Regions from separate parts of the Homo sapiens genome. Here region 1 is linked to region 2. Evidence: promoter capture Hi-C in human tissues and cell types (Jung and others, 2019). All regions are on one chromosome and are shown on one strand. The core of a region is centred on a gene start or on the middle of the fragment in contact, and the rest is flanking DNA. Distances in the headings are between cores, read along the strand shown.

Region 1 (2,700 bases), core at 117-2,616, 160 kb after region 2:
TGTCCCACCAGGGCAAAGGTGGGCTGGGGTCAGCTGAGGGCTTGGTCAAGAGGTCCACACACTGGCCAATTAGTGTCCAGGCTGGATCCCAGCATGGGCCCCACACCACTGTGTACTGGAATATTTCCGCTGGGGTAGAGGAACAAAGGCTATAACTTGTTCACAACATTACCCCTCTCTTCCTCCTTCACTCCAGAAGGGTCTCAGCTCACCTCCCATTTCACCCATCACAAACGTCCCTCAGCCAAACCAACTGCCTCATCTCTACTCACAGTGAAAGTCATGGTAGAATTTGAGTGGGGGCATGTTCCTCTCCACTGCCACGTTACCCCACGGAAGCCCCAAGTGCAAGATCTGACGCCGACGGGAGCAAGGCTGACCACTCTGCTCGGTGCCCACAAGTCGACCCATTAGCCGCCAGTCACGGATCTCAAACAGGTACCGTGGATAGTCCCTGATCCGAACTGTTACCAGAGGAAGGGTACACACTGGCTACTCAGGGGCAGTCTGAGCACTCTCGGGCCTATCTTTTTCCTCACCACTATTTTACCCATCTATATTTACAAAGTCAATTGAGAGAACAAGGGCAGGCAGTTGACACAGCAAGCTGAAAAATGACAGTGACCCTGGAGCAGGTGGTTAAGGGCATAGCACTGAGATCCAAGAGACACAATAACCTTAAAGATGACTGTGTTAGCTTTCCCTTTATGTTAGCCAAGCAATTTCACGGTGAAATTCAGGAACAAAGAAAGGGAAGGGAAGCCCACCCATCCCACTCCACCCACCCAAAACGGCACAGTTCCCAATATAACCTAGTTCCTCTGAAATCACTGAGAGCTCCCCAGAGCTCAGCGGGCAAACACGGGGTCTGCAAATAAAGGAAACACTACTTACCCAGAAAGCTCTTGACATTGCACTTGAGCATTCGACACCACTGAATGACAAGATCTAATCCCTCAGGGGGAAAAGGGCTGCCTGGATCAAGCTCTTGAACCTGTTCTACCACATGCTCAGGACCATGGAAGGAGGCATCTGCCAGAGCTACCAGTTCTAGCCCTGCTAAGCTCCAAGTAAGCAGTGCCCGGCGCATGGGTGTGTTGCCATAGAGACGACGGGAACGCTGGATGTAGATTTCAATGTTTTTGCGTTCCAAAGAGGCATAGAGCTCCTCAATTTTGCGGGCAGGCAACAACTCCCCATGCTGCTTCCGAAGGGCGGCCACTTTAGCATCCAGTAGCTGTAGTCTTTTGGCACTCTCCTTACTTTCATCCTTCATCAGCTCGTAGTTATCATGAAGTTTCACCTCAAAAACATCATCCAAGAAAACCCATGAGAAGTGCTCAACCTTTAAGAGTAGATCAGGTGGGAGTGGGACAGGGCTTGGAGAGGCCCAAGCACGAGTCCCTTGATGTAGTCCCTTCAGCCACTTCTGAACTCCCACAGCCTCATCTAGAGTTCGAGAAAAGTCATACTGATAAGGAAACTCCACCGAGACTGAGCCGAAAGAGAGGAGCCAAACACGGTTCCGGAGGGTCTGCAGCGCAGGGAAGGGGTTCCGGTGGAGGATCATCTCTTCCAGCTCAGGTAGCAGCTGCACCTCCACCTCCTTGAAGTTGAAGATACTATTGCCATCAAAGCCAGCAGCCAGCTCTGGACAGTATGCCTGCAGGGAACCTCCATGCCGGCTCAGTGACACACTCTCTGCAGCCAGGGTAATGAACTTGTCCTCAGCTACAAAAGCTGTGAGCTTGGCTGTGCTCACCTCCAGGGTTAGGTTTAGCAGCCGCTTTGGGGGTAATGGCTCAGGGGCACGGCCTTCTAGCTCAGAAGTAGTTCCTGAAGTCTCTAGTGCAAGGGATGGTACAGTCTCAGGAAACACAGTGGCTCTTAGTAGGTCTCGGCACTGTAGAGTGGCCAGGACATGCTGGTACAGGTACATGTGATCTGGGGGGCTCCAAAGTAAGGTCAGCCCTGCACCACACTGAACCTTTAGGGAGCAGAAGAAAAGGATCTGTCAATTACCATGTCACAAAACAGTAGAGATGGCAAGGATTATGACACATGCACACCTGGCTCAAGAACCATCTCCACCCAGAAGTTGTTCCTGAGTAATCACATTAATTACTGCCTTGCTTTGTTCCTGTTAGCACTAATGTGCTGAGCTGACAGTTGATAGTGTCTGACATTTAAGAGCACTTATACTTTTTAAGTTCTCTTCAACTGGATTCTAAATTGTCTGAAAATAGGGGCCATGTGTCTTAATTCTTTGGTATCTACCATAGTATACTCAGTATAGACAGCAGGTACTCAATAAATCATCTGGCTTCATGTTTCTGCTTATGAGTTACCTTTCTATCAGCAACTACACTGTCTAGTAACCACTGCAACAGTCAACTTGAAAAGGTTTCATGAGTTGATTGCATCAATTTAATTCTCAAAATATAGCATAATAAAGTACTGAGCACACAAGTCAATATGGCAGCTGACTTACGTAAAAGTATGCCTCAAGGAGAGAGTAGTGTCTTTGTCAGCTTCTGAATAGCTAAGTGGACAGAGAAAAGTAAAATTCCAGGACATAAAATTCTCAAGTTCTAGTCTCTAAAAAGGAAACTCTTCAGTTTCCAAAGGACGGTGAAGTCTGACAAGGAGGAACTAACGCCCCACCCTCCTCCTAAGAGGGTCCCATGTCCATTTGTTACC
Region 2 (2,700 bases), core at 101-2,600:
TGAGGGCGCCAGGAGACTGAGGGTCTGGCCAGAGATAAGACCCACAATTTCTTCCAAACTACAACTTGCTCCGTTCAACATACATACACACACACACGCATGCACTTGCCACCCTCCAGGCCTTCGTTCACTCTTCCCTCTCCTTGTGCCCCTTCCCCTATCACCTCGTGCCAAGTAAGACTGAGCTCTCAAGCCTTCGCTCAGATGCCATCTCTTCCAGGAGCCCTTGCCTGGTGCCTTTCACCCAGAGCTTCTGCCCTGGTTTGGACCTCCCTCAGGATACCCATAATGCATGTGTGAATTCTGGCTGGCTCCATGTCCTTTGGCCTCAGTTCCCCCATCTGTTAAATGGAATAGTAACACCTAACCCATGGTGTAGTTACCGAGTTGATGAAGTACAGTAACTGACTTGTACTAAGTGCTGAGCAAATGTCAGTCTTTACCACCAGCAGCAGCAGCAGCATTTTAATCTCTGTATCTTTAGCACTGAGCACAGGGCTGAATACATAATTGGTACTAAATACTTGCTTGGTGGAGGGATGGATGGATGGATGGTTGGATGGATGGATGGATGGATGGATGGATGATGGATAAATGAGAGATCTAGTATGTTTCCAAAATAAGAGACAATCTTTGCTGGGGGGCGAGGGGGCTAGGAAGAGCCTGAAAGAAACTAACCTTCATCGTACACCTGCCATGCATCAAAGCTCAACATATATAAGTTGTCTAATTTGAGCCTCACAATAGCAAGATATTACTGCAGAATAAGGAAGTGGCTAATTCTGAGAGGTTAAGTCGGTGGATCAGTGTCACACAAGATGTAGTCAGGACCAGGGACTTTGATGGTCCTCGATACCTGGAAGGAGGAGGAGGAGGACTTGCTCCAGGCCTTAGCTACTGTCAATCTTAGACTGAAAATTCCTAGGGCATCTCTGTGGGCAGGGCAGGGCCACCCCACCCAGGCTGTCACATAAAGTGCTCAGCTGAGAACCTAGCTTTGGAGAACAGCAGAAAGGAAAGGCCGGGCCAGCGGAGGTGGCTTGGGGGCTGCCTGTGGAGGGTGGCTGGGGGACTCTCCTTCCTTCTCCAGCTCCTCCAGCACCACCCTCAGCAGCCTCCAAGAACAGAAGGAGTTAACGCTGGGATTAACTTCTTGAAGGAACCTGAAGTTTTTTAATCCTTGTTCTTTCCTCCTTCCTTCTCCCTCTCCCTTCCTGATCTTTACTCCGCCTGTGGGTCCCTCCTCCTTACTCTCACCTCCCCAACTCCAAAAACACTCTGATTGCCAGACTGGGTCAATGGTTAACACTCAACTGGCTTTATATAAGCCTGCCACCTGCCTGCTTGGCTGCATCTTTGGTCCTTCTGTTACCCAGCTCCTGGAGGCAGTGGCTGTAGCAGCCCTTGCTGCTCCACACCATGGCCACCTGCTGGCAGGCCCTGTGGGCCTATCGCTCCTACCTGATCGTGTTCTTCGTGCCCATTCTCCTGCTGCCTCTGCCCATCCTCGTCCCCAGTAAGGTAAGGACTTGGTGTTCTGAGCACAGATAACTCCAGGGGGCAGAGGAGGGACTGTCTGGGCCGGGGTTGGGCATCCTTAGGATCCAGCATAACTTCCTCACTGCCCCTGCCCTGGAAGTGAGGCTATCGCCCCCTGCTCCTCCTGAGGACTGAGGGCTAGGAGGTCAAAGGGGCTTTTGCTTGGCACCCAGTTGTAGGAGCCCAGCGTGAATTACTTAGGTGGGTTTGCAACCTACTGCCCTAGGAAACAGGAAACCAGTTCCATCAACAAGATGCAAGGGGGGCAGATGGAGCTGATCTACCTACTGTGTGCCCACCTAGCCCTGGACTGGGCTCCATGGCGGCTGAGATGGGCTGGCTGTGGGGAGGGGACGGCTGGGTAAGCAGCAGCAGAGTGAAGAGGGTTGGAAGGAGAATAGGAGAAAGCTGGCTGCAGGCGGTCTGCATCTTTAAGAGCATAAACAGGAAGAGAAAGAGTTCACCTGTGGATTCAAGGGCTAAGTCTGTGGAGGAGGAGGGGTGGGAGTTGGAAGAGGGGACCGCTGCAGGTAGACAGCACAAAAACTGTGCCCTGGATGGAGGGGGAGCTGGGCACAACCAGGCGTCACTGCCTCCTCCTCCGCCCCCAGCAGAAGTCATAACTTCATCTCTCATTAAATCAAGCCGCCAATGCCTGCCCTGCCCTAGGCACCCAGTAACCTTTTCCACCATCTTAAGAGGTCAGGCCTGACTGTCCCATTTGACAAATGGGGAAGGTGAGGTTAAGTCACTTAGTCAAAGTCCCAGGGCAGATCCAAGTTTCATGGAACTTGGATATTATACACTTTTGGGCCCCACTCTGTAAGAAAAAGGACACAAAAGTATTAATCTGAAATTAGTTTGGGGCTTTGGGAAGGGTCCAGGGGGAAGGCCTTGAAGTTCAATCTTCAGTCAGTCGGCCTCTGGCAAATCACACAGCTGGGAGGTTCAGAGCTGGGGGTGTGATCTGGTGCCAAAGCATGTCTTCTCTCCACCCTGCTGCCTCCTGCCCCACCCCACACCCCCAGAACTGCCCATCAAGCCATTTTCTTCCTTTTGTCATAGATAGAGAAATTGAGTCAGACTTTTTTGTTCATGGTATCCCAAAGGGGTGAGAGACTGGGGGTGATAGTGGCACAGCCCCTGGGCCCCTGACACCTG

Evidence for each region. Contacts are between HindIII fragments. The study calls those that stand out against the background at their distance.
Region 1: a contact is called between a fragment that was not itself captured here and the fragment with the promoter of SLC13A2 in region 2, in 1 of the 25 tissues and cell types used here (hippocampus).

The regions. Positions count from the first base shown.
Region 1 is chr17:28,633,623-28,636,322 of GRCh38, forward strand. BLTP2 (bridge-like lipid transfer protein family member 2) reads right to left here. Exons shown (of 39, transcript NM_014680.5): 16 at 895-1,987; 17 at 273-464; 18 at 1-129. Among named protein-coding and RNA genes, the nearest start is that of BLTP2, 10 kb to the right of the region's middle. The HindIII fragment of the contact is 6,597 bases long and covers 1-2,700 here.
Region 2 is chr17:28,472,294-28,474,993 of GRCh38, forward strand. SLC13A2 (solute carrier family 13 member 2) reads left to right here and starts at 1,351. Exons shown (of 12, transcript NM_003984.4): 1 at 1,351-1,521. The coding sequence starts at 1,420. The HindIII fragment of the contact is 27,138 bases long and covers 1-2,700 here.